2 separate regions of the Homo sapiens genome follow, and region 2 is linked to region 1. Evidence: promoter capture Hi-C in 16 types of primary human blood cells and fetal thymus (Javierre and others, 2016). All regions are on one chromosome and are shown on one strand. Each heading gives the region's core, a stretch centred on a gene start or on the middle of the fragment in contact. The rest is flanking DNA. Distances are from core to core; before and after follow the strand shown.

Region 1 (6,823 bases), core at 4,213-6,712:
ATGAAAAACAGCCACCGGTTACACCTTGCTTACACATTCACACAGCCTGCTTTGGTGTTGTCTGATTACATTAATTTTCCTTCTGTTACTTTTTCCATGTTTTCTGACTATTACTTTTCTGGCTGCTTGTTACTCTTCTTCCTGCTCTTACATAAACACATGCAACAACTCAATGTTCAGATGGAAATGCTTGATTTTTGTATTCCTTGCCAGTTTAAAACAGCGAATCTGTCAGATCATCTTTAAGTTTCCCTCTTGCTCTTAAAATTACCTGATTTTATTCAGGAGTGAGTTTCAGTTTTACCTGCTCCATAAGCTGTATGAGAAATTAACCAGTAGACAAAACCCTGTAAGACCATGTCATTTTTTACTAGAAAATTTGCTACTATAGTTGTCATTTATACTTTACTTCATATGGCTATATCCTAAATATCATTTGTAATTTGCAACTCTAAAATATAACAAAAAACCTGTGTTAGAGTTTGTTATCAAAGTACTGAGTTAAGACTAAGAAGTATAACCAACTCAATTATGCACAAAATACAAGACACTACCTCACAATATTTCTTTCGAATATTTGAGGAAACTAGTCCATTAGTGAGGTTTTGCCATATATGAAAGTGCTGTCAAGTCAAAGAAAATTTAAATTACAGCTACTATTCATATTCACCTACTTTTAGATTACCTTCAAAGTATGTTTTACTTCTGGCAGGTGGAGAGAAGGGTATGCCACATATTAGTCCCACAGCGCCCATAACATTAGGCAATGATGTCAGTTAATTAACAATTGTCCTTCATGCTAACTTCTTCACAAGTATTACCCAAAGCCCAATTTCTAACATGTGGTTCAAATTCCATTCTCAGCAAATCTTTAGATAAATTTAAAAAACCCATCTCTATAATATATCAAAGTTGTACTGTAAGTATATGTAATTAATCACAAACTTCAACTAGTTAATATATCAAAACAGATATTAAATGTTTAAACATATATGAAATACCCCCAAATACTGAATGAAACTTTAGATTAGCTGGAACTCTAAATCACTATCACTACATTGCTACATTTAGTACCTCACCACAACAGGTTACATAGGTAGCTAACAGGTGAATCATATGGACACATCTGTAAATACACTTAAAGACATGTACATTTCACACAGCACAAGCTGTTAGGCATTAGAGTAGCAAAACGTGTTTTCAAACTCCAAGAAACATGATTTGTAACATCAGAGTTATTTCATGTGAATTGCATCATGCTTCTCTTTCTCTCCCTCTCTCTTCGCAACCTGGACTATATGCTAATATTACTGGTGAATAAGATAATTCTCAGTTACTAAACTGGGAAAGCCTACTCCAGATGGTAGTCTCAAAGCATAAGCTATTTTCTTTTTCAAACTGATATAAACATTCACACAACACTTTTTAAAGAGTTGTTTATAACCTAGGAACTTCTGATAAGTAGTATTCAGGTAAGGATTAAAGAGACTGAAGTTATGCATAAATAAAAAGCAAACAGTAATGTTTTCATCAGAACACAGATATCAAGCAACAAGAAAAAAATGCAAAAGGATTAAGTTATGCGCTTCTCGCTCATCAGCATCACATCCAAATGGTTCATATTATTTTATTAACTGTACACCTTCCTTTGAAAAGGACCAGTTTTTATTTTTATTGTATTAGCTAACAAAACTGCAAAGTACCAGAGATATGCTTTCAGGGAAAAGTGATCACTACAAAATCATTTTTCCATTCATCACGTAAATTAAACAGACTGATAACCTTTAAACACAGAAAGTCTAAATAGTTTGGTGAAAACAGACCAGATATCCTGTTCTCTGCTTTAGCTCTAAATTGGTACAGATCCTAAGATACTCTCGATTCTAAATTTCTTCAATTCTGAGACCTGGAGAGCTAGGTCTGGAACCTGGCTTCATCACATGTTAATTCTGACACATGGTTCAGTAACAAAAGCTTGCTCAGCCTCTGTTTCTCAATCTGTCAAAAGGGGTAACACCTCTGTCCCGCTGACTCACAATATTTTAAGGAACGACCAAAACAGTGAAATTAAACATCCTCTGCTGTCTGAAAACTACTCTCTGAATTTATAATTATTACCTGAAATACCTGGCAGTGGACCTAACTAAAATGACTAACACTGCTTGGCACAAAGAAAAAAAAAGGTTAAGCCATTTGCCTCTTCTGCCAAAAATAAGAAAGCATGCATTTGTGAGAAAAATTATAACCTTTTCACTATTATCCTGAGAAAATGAAGAAATATCTTTTTAGTGTCCTCCTTTAAATTTATTAATAGAAAAGAGAAAATGTTTCTAATATTAGCCATGTGTCAATGACGAGGATATGTTCTGAAAAGTGTATCACTGGGCGATTTCCTTTTTGTATACTTAAACCTAAATGGGATAGCCTTCTACATACCTGGGCTACATAGTGTAGCCTGTTGTTCCTAAGCTACAAATCTGTACAGCATGTGACTATACAGACTACTGTAGGCAACTGTAACATAACAGTAAGTATTTGTGTACATAAACATAGCTAAACATAGAAAAGCTACAGTGAAAATATGGTGTAAAAGATTACAAAACATATACCTGTCTAGGGCACTTACCATAAATGGAACTTGCAGGATTAAGAGTTGCTGTGGGTGAGTGAGTGAGTGAATGTGAAGCCTAGGATGTTACTATACACTATTGTAAACACTGTACACTTAAACTACACTAAATTTATTTTTTAAAAAGTGTGCTACCATGTTCCAATGGCTACAATGTCACTAGGTGACAGGAATTTTTCAGCTCCATTATATTCTTACAGGGCCACCATCTTACATGGGGTTCATTGTTGACCAAAATGTCATTATGTAGCATGTGACTATATCATATTTTTACATGCTTCTAAAACATGATACTAGCTAACAGCTATCAACAGCAATAGAATCAAGATTCTCTTTGTTGGCTGACCATACTCCACCTGGAGAGATGCGACCTGCCCTGGGTAACCACTAATGTTCAAACACAAAATTATAACCAAAAACTTGATTTTAATACTGGAGTAAAACTTTAAACTTTGAGGCCGAAACCCTGTGAATGAAAATCACAATTGAAAATCCATAGCTTAATTTACACAACTTTATTTAACACAGGGTTGTTTTTTTTTCTTTTTTTTTGAGACAGGGTCTCGCTCTATTGTCCAGGCTGGAGTGCAGTGGCATAATCACAGCTCAGTGCAGCCTCAACCTCCTGGGGCTCACTCCATCCTGCCACCTCAGCCTCCCGAGTAGCTGGAACTACACGTGTGCACCATCACACCTGGAGTTACGTAGAGATGGGGTTTCGCCATGTTGCCCAGGTTGGTCTTGAACTCCTGGGCTCAAGTGATCCTTCCACTTCAGCCTCCCAAAGTGCTGGGATTACAGGTATGAGCTGGGCCCGCACAGGTGTTTTATGATATATGAACTTCATGTGAGCACAGCACTGCCTTTATTACCTTTTAGCATGCACATCTACATTGTTTTAGTTCTGGCTAAGGCTTCTGCCTTTACCATTGAAATGTTGTGGCACAGCTTTAACTATGATGGAAATCAGAGCAGACATTTCTTGAATACAGTCCTCTACCTACATCAATACAACCCAAGGATTTAATATATCAGTGTTAAGTCTTTTATTACAACATCCTGAAAGCCCCAACTGTTGATCTTCAAATATCTTTTCCACTGGCATGGAGCTCTAAGTATATAAAATGCAGTCAAAGACAGACAGCACAATTCCTATGCTTTAATTTTCTTTAAACTCTGCCAATTAAATTCAGAGGGATACACACCGTGCTCTTTCATTACTGTAGTTCTCTTTAGTGTGAAGAATCCCTCATGGAGATTGTTAATCTATGTATACCTGAGCTGTTCCAGACCTAAAACCCAATGTTTAACAAACCCATAAGAGGAATTCTGATGCAGGAGGTCCATGGTCCAGCAGGTACTCTACTCATTAAGCTCAACAGCTTCATTTCATGCTTTTTGATCAAATATTAAATAACTGCTAAAAGTGCTTCGAGAGTTAAGTATAGTCTAAAGATCTGGTCATTAACTCAAACCATCACTACTACTGGAGGGAGGGGAGTGGACCTGAAAGAATGATGTTGGCAGTAAAGTAATTAGCATAGGGTTGGTGCTTTTGAAATGGTATCTCAAACCACATCATGGATAGAATTTAGGTTTAAGCCTCTTATTTTAGAAGCAGAATGACGTTATGGCATTGATTTACAACTAGGACAGGTAATTTGGGGATTCAGATAACCATCTGGGAAATTTTCTGTTAAAAAAAAGCTGACATTTATTAAAAAAAGAAAAAGCTGACATTTATACTCCGTGTTGTCCCCCCAAAACGTCAAGCCACAGAACACCTGTCCTGTTAACTGAAACTGATTAAAATTCCAAAGTTTTACTGTACTAATTTTTATTTATCAACACTTAGAAACACGAAGTTTTCATGAACACTCTCAAAATGGAAATTTTCAAATGTAGGCAGATTAAAACATTAAAAAAGGGGGAAAAAAGCAGAACCAGAATAAACATTAGCTAACTGGAAAATCAATTCAAAAGCACACAAATTTCTGTATCTATATAAAACGCATCTTATAAGAACCAAGATTTTCCCAAACATCATAAAATGACTGTCAACAAACATGGGGCAACTCAGAAACACTGTGACAGGTCACCGCTTTCTCAGGAAGGTTTCAAAAAAGTAAAAAGTGGCTACGATGAGATCAAAAGTCTTCGTTTTTAAACAGACAGACCAGGGACCATCTCAGGTGTTAAGCAAACTACTGTCAACATCCTGGTCTGGATGGATCCTCCTCTGCCCCAAAGTGACAGCTCCAGGTTTGTCAATTATTTAACTTACAATTCCCAAGCCCAGAGTTCTAGACCAGACCCTTCCTCTACCCCAGGGTCGAGGAAGCTCCACTCGGGCTCCTGTATCAGGATTCATTCCTTTGGAGTCAATTCCGCGTTCGTGAGAAGAGTCGCGCAAAGTTTGTTACGTGGGAGAGAGGTGTGGGCAGGGTGACCGCCCCTTCTTTTTCCACCCCACTCCACCTTCCTAAATAGCCCCTTTGGCGCAGGCCAAGCAAAGCCAAAGAGCGAGTGACAGCCCAGTGCGAGATGTGCCCAGGGAGAACGGGGTCCCGAGCCTGGAGTCCCCACGGCCCCGCCGGCTGTAGAGGCTGGGGGGCGGAGGCTCTGGGCCTTCAGCCCGAGGGGGCGGATACTGACCCGAGGACGCCGAGGCCAAGCTCAGCAGCACCGCACACAGCAGCAGCGTCAGCCCTATCCGGACCCGCATCCTCCTCTCGGGGCCGGTGCCAACCCCTAGAGCTGTCGCCTTCGCCTCTGCCACCACGGACTCAGCCACCACCGCCGCCTCGCCGCTGCTCTTCCTGCTCTAGTCTCCTTCCTCCGCCCCTTCCCAGGCTTCCCTGACCCAGCGCGCAGCCAATCCCCGCCCGCCGTCGCGGGCTTCTGGTCCAATCACCATGGTCTCCCCGCCCACCCCCATTGCTCCGCCCCGGGGGTCATTCATTGGCCAATCATTGTACGAAGCTCCCACACCAGCTTTCTCGGTTGGACCACGACTCACGGACATGGCCCCAGCTAATTGGTAGCCCCTGGGTTCAACCGGAATCAGCGCGTGAGTCCAAGACTGGGAGAAAGAGGCTCATCCGAGACTACAATTCCCAGAATGCGCTTCATGTGATTAACTCGGGGGGTGCTCTTGGGAAACGTAGTCCATCGTAGGGCAAGATTTACAAGTGCGGGTGACTGTTGAAGTTAGAATTTAACTAACACCTGGGCTAAATATTAACTCAAGGCTATGGATTCACAAGCCTTTTTAAATTGACCCAAAATAAATATTAAGGAATAATTTTAAGAACTTGTAATGTGTTTAGCATCTTTTCCTGTTTTATTTAAAAAATTTAAATTGGGCATAGTGATAAGAGCACTGAGAAAAATGCCACAGCTAGTTGAATTTGAGGTGTTTTTTAAAACTTAGATAAAACAGTACCGTGAAGTACGGAAACCAGGGTGCAACTCAGTACCTGTCCTCCTTTCTCCGACAAAACAAAAGGAAATAAATCCGCTCGGCACAGATTATCTCAATACAGTATTTATTTTCACTAGGTTCACCAGACAATAATCATAAAGAAAATGTGCCAACAGCTTTGAAAAATTATTTTAAACACTTGTCCTCATCCTTCTCCTCTTGTGAGTTGCATTGTTCTCTTCTTTCCTAACTAAAGTCAGGAGACCAGGTTCACGTGTGTGGAGGTAGAGGTGATAGTGATTGCATCGCAGGCACGGAAATACTCTATGTAATAAGCACGAAATCCAGGCATGTTCCAACTGAGTAGCAGAGCAGTGACTTGGTGTGCCTGCCCTTTCTTTTCTCAAACCGTGTCATTCTGCTTTCCCTGTCATCCACCCACAGTCAGCTCTAAGGCCTAGAACCTAGTCCAGCCAAGTGAAGGACTTTGGAAAAGTCTCTGCTGGCCATGTGTCTTAACACTTCTGGGCATTTGTCTTCCTTCCTTTTTTTTTTTGTTTTTTGTTTTTTGTTTTTTGAGATACAGCCTTTTATTTTCAGGAAGATGGTAAAAAACCAACCACTGTTTCTCATTCACATCGGAGGAGATGAAGGAAAGAATTATCTCCTCCAAAAACTTGTCTTTTCAGCTACATCACCATTTCTGTCACTAACAATGTTCCCTCTGAGTTCCTCTGATTATAAATCATAGAGTAAAATCTGGTATATTT
Region 2 (5,880 bases), core at 3,381-5,880, 6.5 Mb after region 1:
ACAAGATCCCTGAAAGCCAAGTATTAATATGTATACTGTATAGAAGGCATATTTTTAAGCATACACAGAGAATCACAGTAATACACTAGTCACAAAAGCAACTCTGAATGAGGATGGATAAAAGGAACATATATACATCTATTAGGTTTAGAGTCATGAAGCATGGGGTTTTAGAATTGAAAGAACTTCCATAACTCCACAGTTGAGAAAACTGTTAATAACAAGAGACGATTCTAGAATCCAGGTGCAGGTCTTTTTACTCCAATGATACAGGAAAGAGTTTATCAATGAACCTCCTCATCATAGCATTTGTTATCATGAGTCTAAACAAGATGTGAATCACCCATTACTTGTGACTGTACCATAAGAGAAAGCTATTAGACCAAACCTACATTTAGTCTCACTACAGGTTATAAATGTCCTGACATTTAAGAAAGTTCTCCGGCCAGGCGTGGTGGCTCATTCCTGTAATCCCAGCACTTTGGGAGGCCGAGGCGGGCGGATCACGAGGTCAGGAGTTTGAGACCAGCCTGGCCAACATAGTGAAACCCCGTCTCTAATAAAAAGAAAAAAAAACTAGCTGGGTGTGGTGGCGGGTGCCTGTAATCCCAGCTACTTGAGGCAGGAGAATCACTTGAACCCAGGAGGCAGAGGTTGCAGTGAGCCAAGATCACAACACTGCACTCCAATCCGGGTGACAGTGTAAAAAAAAAAGGAAAGTTCTCAAATATAAACTAATTTTTCAGTCATAATTTGGAAAAGGATAGCAAAAACTAGTATATTCTTTCTTCTGACTTCCTCCAGCCCTTGGCTCATCCTCATGCCCTGTATCATCATGTAGTATTACAGTTTATATGTTCCAGCATCTACTTCTCTTACTGAACACAAGAGCTTATTAATCTTAGTAGCCCTCAAATATTACAGTCACAGTTCCTGCAACACAGTAGGAACTCAATAATTGTTTGCTGATAATCTAAGTCATGATTGCATGAAAATGTTTAAGTATTAGTTTTAACTGATGGTATATTAATAAGCAAATGATTATGGAGACCCACTATGTGTGTGTTAAGGCCCTGTGGGGTACGATGCAGCCTGGGGCATGCCTCCACCCAGCCAAGAGACAAGCTGGACATGATATCATTTTTCATACTTTTCAAATCCTTAAAAGGTGTTAACTAACAGTTTGTGACAGGTGAACGCAGATTTCAGCCAGCCTGCCAAATCTGGCCCATCATCTGTAATTTTACAACTTGAGAGCTAAAAGTGTTTTTAGTTTTAAATAGTTACATTTTAAATGGCTATATATTTACCTCAAGATCCTCAATATTGCCTTTTGGCCCACAAACCCAAAACTATTTATGCTCTGGCCCTTTAATAAAAAGTTTGCCAATCTTTGGCTTAAGACAACAAGAGGATAAAATGAGACTAACCCCCCATAAGCTGTATAGGAAACACAACACTGTTGTAGGAACCAGAGAAAGCAGGGAAAGCTTTGAAGGAGAATTTGAGTTGGGTTGATACAAAAAAAAAAAAAAAAAACCCAGCTCAGAGGAAGGAGGTATACACTCAACACAGTTTTCAAAAGTGGGAACACTGGGATGGGCAAAGGGGAGCAATTAAAGGTCACAGGTACTTAGTTTGTGTTATTATCAGACACCATTAGAACAAATTAGCCTCATGGCATAAAATGGTTAGTCAAAAAGTACCACAGAATCAAATTATTTTCTAAATTACAAACAAATGTCCAAAACTGAATCATATTTTAAATATATTACTAACTCCAATATAATCAATGTCCAAATCATGGTAACGCTTGGCGCCCACAATCCAGGTCACGACATAATAGGCAGTCAGCTGAAGATTGACATAAGGCCAGTCGAAACCTTTTCCCAGCCATCCAGGGAATGACCATGGCAACCCTGCAGAGAGAAGGGAGGAGGCAAAGGTAGAGGAGGTATAACGGTGCTGGCGCTATTGAAAATAAAACAAATTTTTTTTAAGAAAAGCATTCAACTAGCAAAAAACCAATACAGATCTGACTAAAGGAAAGTTTATATACCATATAAAAATTATTGAAATCCTTTCCAATCTATAGACACTATAATTCCTTATTGATCCCTAGAGTCAGGTCCCATAATTTCAAATGTTCTTTCCAAGAAGAAGAAAAATAACAAATACAAACACCTCTCTCCAAGACCCTTACCAATAGAAAGAAATGTACCATATGTTTTAACTTAACATGTCCACTCACTGTTGGAATGTTCAATATTCAACTTCTGTTCTTTGAGGTCAAATCAAAGAATTCTAAAAGGCTTATGCCAAACTACTCTTGAGTTATGTATAACACAAATTTATCATTCAATTGTACATCTTCTTACAATTTAGGGTCCTTAAAATATTAATCAGTCAGGCAATCTAATTTAGCAAAACTAGTTTGTTCTTATATCACTATAAATGACAATGACTCCATAGAGAAATATACCCTTGTTAAGTGATACACATCAAATAAGTCCATATTCTTCCAATAATCCTGATTATGTTTAAGTAAAAAAATAAGAAGAGTAGAAAAGTACTTATTATAATTCTAAATTTAACTTGCTACTAATATATTAAAATAGGCTCAATAGTTAAGTTCCTCAGCAATAAATATATTACCAAACTAGTTCACCACTGAAAAAAATAAAAATCAAAATGACAAAATGCTTATTTTCTAAACTCAGGAGGAACACCCAAGTGTATTACATAAGAAATGTGACATTAAAGTAATAGAATTCTTGAAAACAATGAAATGCTAAATGCAATCTGAAGGCCTACCAAGTCTTTGTTAGGACATGGTTTAGCATGCCATATTTTCTACATTTAAATGAGGTCTGACCTTGGAAGCAGTCTAGTGGATATGTGCTGAATTCAGTGATGCTTTTACTGCTCACAGCATTTCTGGAATCTCTTACAAAAGCCCATTTATAAAGAACATACTTACTCCTAATTTCTTTTAACTTAGAAAATATTACTTTTCATTAACCTGATTGTTGAGAAAATTATTTTTTAAATAACTAGAAATCAGGTCTTTAAAATGAATCATTAATTTCATTTAACTTAGTTTGAATTTAAGCCTGTTTCAAAAAATCAAATTCATTTCAAATGATGAAAGTATCCCATCACTCTTGATGTTTGAAATACTTCACAAGCTCTGTACACATTCTCACAGAACTGTGAAATGTACATAGTCCCATTTAAGCAACTAGCCAATGATCCTCCCAATAGAACCTAAGCCCCACAGGTGCAGGAATTGGGGACGGGATTGGCTTCCTGAGTCCCAGAACAGTAACCAGCACATTATTGAAGTTCAAAAACTAACTAATAAACAAAAAACACTTTTGTATGTACCTTTTCTAAAAATAGGGTTCACTACTACATGCAATATACAATTTTGTAACTAGTTAGGTGTACTACTGCATGTAATATACATTTTTGTGAACAGTGTTACCCTTTTATAAATACTGATGACAGATCTTGTGAAGGAAAGTAGTTTAGCATCATAGGAAACATGGAATTAGGTGCTAACACCGATTTTGCCATTTACTAACTGTCTATGACCTTAGGTCAGTGGCATAATCTTCCTAAGCTTCTACTGCTTCTTCCTGGAAAATGGAAAGAGTCATGCCTTACTCCACAGGTATTATAAGGATTCAACATAATATACAAGGGCAAAGAAAGGATCACCCCTGGCACATGCTTTGCTGCTGGTAGCATACTGGTAGCATTAATGACATTATGAGTACTTCCGTATTAATAGAGATTCCACCAACACGATTCAGAATTTAAAAGTTAAAGGAAAAGAGACTGAAGAAACATTGCAAACTTCATTTCTTACCAATGAGTGTAATATTGGGATTCCTCTTCTTAGCTTCTTTCATCAACCACCACTCGTATCCTCGGAAATAATTCTCATCTAGTGCATAATGCATGTGGGAGGGCTCAGTGCCGTCTGAATAGAGGAGAGCAAAAACGGAAGTAATGATCCATGAATGGTACTTCCTAGGACCATCTCACTCCCCACCCCCACCCCAGACACACACTTCACAAAAGCAGTATTCCAGTTCTAATCCTGAAGTTGGGGAAATCATAATCTTACACAACTAAAGGATGGATGATAAAAGCATATCATTTCATCCTTTTTTTATTATCTTAAGCATTGTAAAAGTCTTAATAAAACCACAACCTTCTATTACAAGCAGTACTGAGAGAAATGTTATCACCTCATATAACTAAAAATTCCCAGTATTCATGCTTCTGGGCTTTTGATCTCTCTGTAGTTTTCAAATCCCCATGTCCAACTTTAAGTTCTGATTACCTCAACTTTCAGCTTTTCAACGCTGGATATGAATCCCTGGACTCGTGAGCCCTGTTCTCAGAACCCACACCTTTAGCCTATAATATGTCTTGATATAGGAAGAGTTTTGAGGAAAAAAAAAGGAATGAGTATACATATCCACTCTAAAAATAACAAAATTCTATACTAACATCTGCAGTTAGTAGAGGTTACATTGTCTTAGCACTGAGGTAGGTAATTGCTATCAAAGTCCTCGTATATTCCCACAGTTCACCAACATCTGCCCTTGCTAAGTAGGGCCTTCCGAGAGGCCCTTGCCCATTTCTTCTTAAAGGTAAACATCAGAATTCACAAGAACTGCCTGTTTATGTACCTCTACCTCTAATTTAGCTTCAGCAAGTGAAATTAGTCCATCATTGTCAATTCTGCCTAAAAGGTTTTAACAGTAAAACGCAATAGCTTGAAGAAAGTTTCTGTTATGGGGGTTTCTTTTGTTTTTGCTTTGCACTTTTTCTTCAACATAAACACTAATACCACCACATAGACATATCTGTTCAACAAAGAGTTACTTCCAAATCACTAGCAGGAATACAAGTAATACTCTAGAGTTCATTATAATGGAATCTGTTCTGTAAATAATAAGCTATATCTAATCATAGAGAGAATTTCTTTTCTTCTTCCTGGAAACAAAAGGCCTATAAACTGCCAGTTGATAACATGGACTACATAAAGCCAATCAAAATAGTGACAATGAAGACTGAAGATTTAGTGATTAAAGATAAGTTTTGTTTTTAAAAGAAAAAAAAGCTGTATCATTTTTACCACATATTTTAAGTTAATAACACTTTTTTTGTTCTATACGAAATTAAAATCTTTCTAACTGCTCAATAAAATTCAAAACTGTCCCTATGCTCTGTCCTGTATATATAGGTTTTAGAAAACTGTGGATTTGTTTACTACCGATTACTTCAACTAAATAAGCAATTTGAAGTTTGAATATTGTTTTTGATGGACCAGTCATATTCTATATAATATTTTTAAATAATTACAGTTAAAAAATGAGGAAAACTCTAATAAGCAACAATCAATCTCAAAAGTGTTGGTATTGTTTACACATATTCTGAAATCACAGTCCATATGCTGAGGTATAGATTAAAATGTTGATGGGAGAAATCCTATCTCCCAAATTCTCCTACCTGTTGTCTGCCCATCACCACCTATTTCCACTTTTAAAATATGCAAAGAGGCACCAAAATTCGGCTGTGAAAAGAAGTAACAGTATTAACATAGTGTTGTATTGTATGAAGCTTCAAGACAATTACTAATTACTGCCTTAGGTTTTACAGACGCAAAAACAAAAGCAAAACTTCAAATAGCAATTTATTCCAAAAGTAATGTGCCATTTTTTCAAAAACTAGAATTGTGAGGCTAATAAATTCTATGGTGAAATTCACCATCCAATTTCTAAAATATCACAGGTACCATGAAATAATTATGTTTTCATTACCTTAAAGAGATAATCCAATATCTGAGAACGATAGGGCTCT

What was found. The method cuts DNA at HindIII sites, captures the fragments that hold promoters and counts their contacts. A CHiCAGO score of 5 or more calls a contact.
Region 2: a contact is called between a fragment that was not itself captured here and the fragment with the promoter of SEL1L in region 1, in 1 of 17 cell types (total CD4 T cells). The highest score is 5.4, in total CD4 T cells.

Annotation. Positions count from the first base shown.
Region 1 is chr14:81,528,391-81,535,213 of GRCh38, forward strand. SEL1L (SEL1L adaptor subunit of SYVN1 ubiquitin ligase) reads right to left here and starts at 5,463. Exons shown (of 21, transcript NM_005065.6): 1 at 5,285-5,463. The coding sequence starts at 5,354. RefSeq lists an enhancer at 5,251-5,750 and a silencer at 5,467-5,586. The HindIII fragment of the contact is 11,079 bases long and covers 1,973-6,823 here.
Region 2 is chr14:87,982,615-87,988,494 of GRCh38, forward strand. GALC (galactosylceramidase) reads right to left here. Exons shown (of 17, transcript NM_000153.4): 2 at 5,841-5,880; 3 at 5,530-5,593; 4 at 3,875-3,988; 5 at 1,780-1,919. Among named protein-coding and RNA genes, the nearest start is that of GALC, 7.6 kb to the right of the region's middle. The HindIII fragment of the contact is 2,015 bases long and covers 3,624-5,638 here.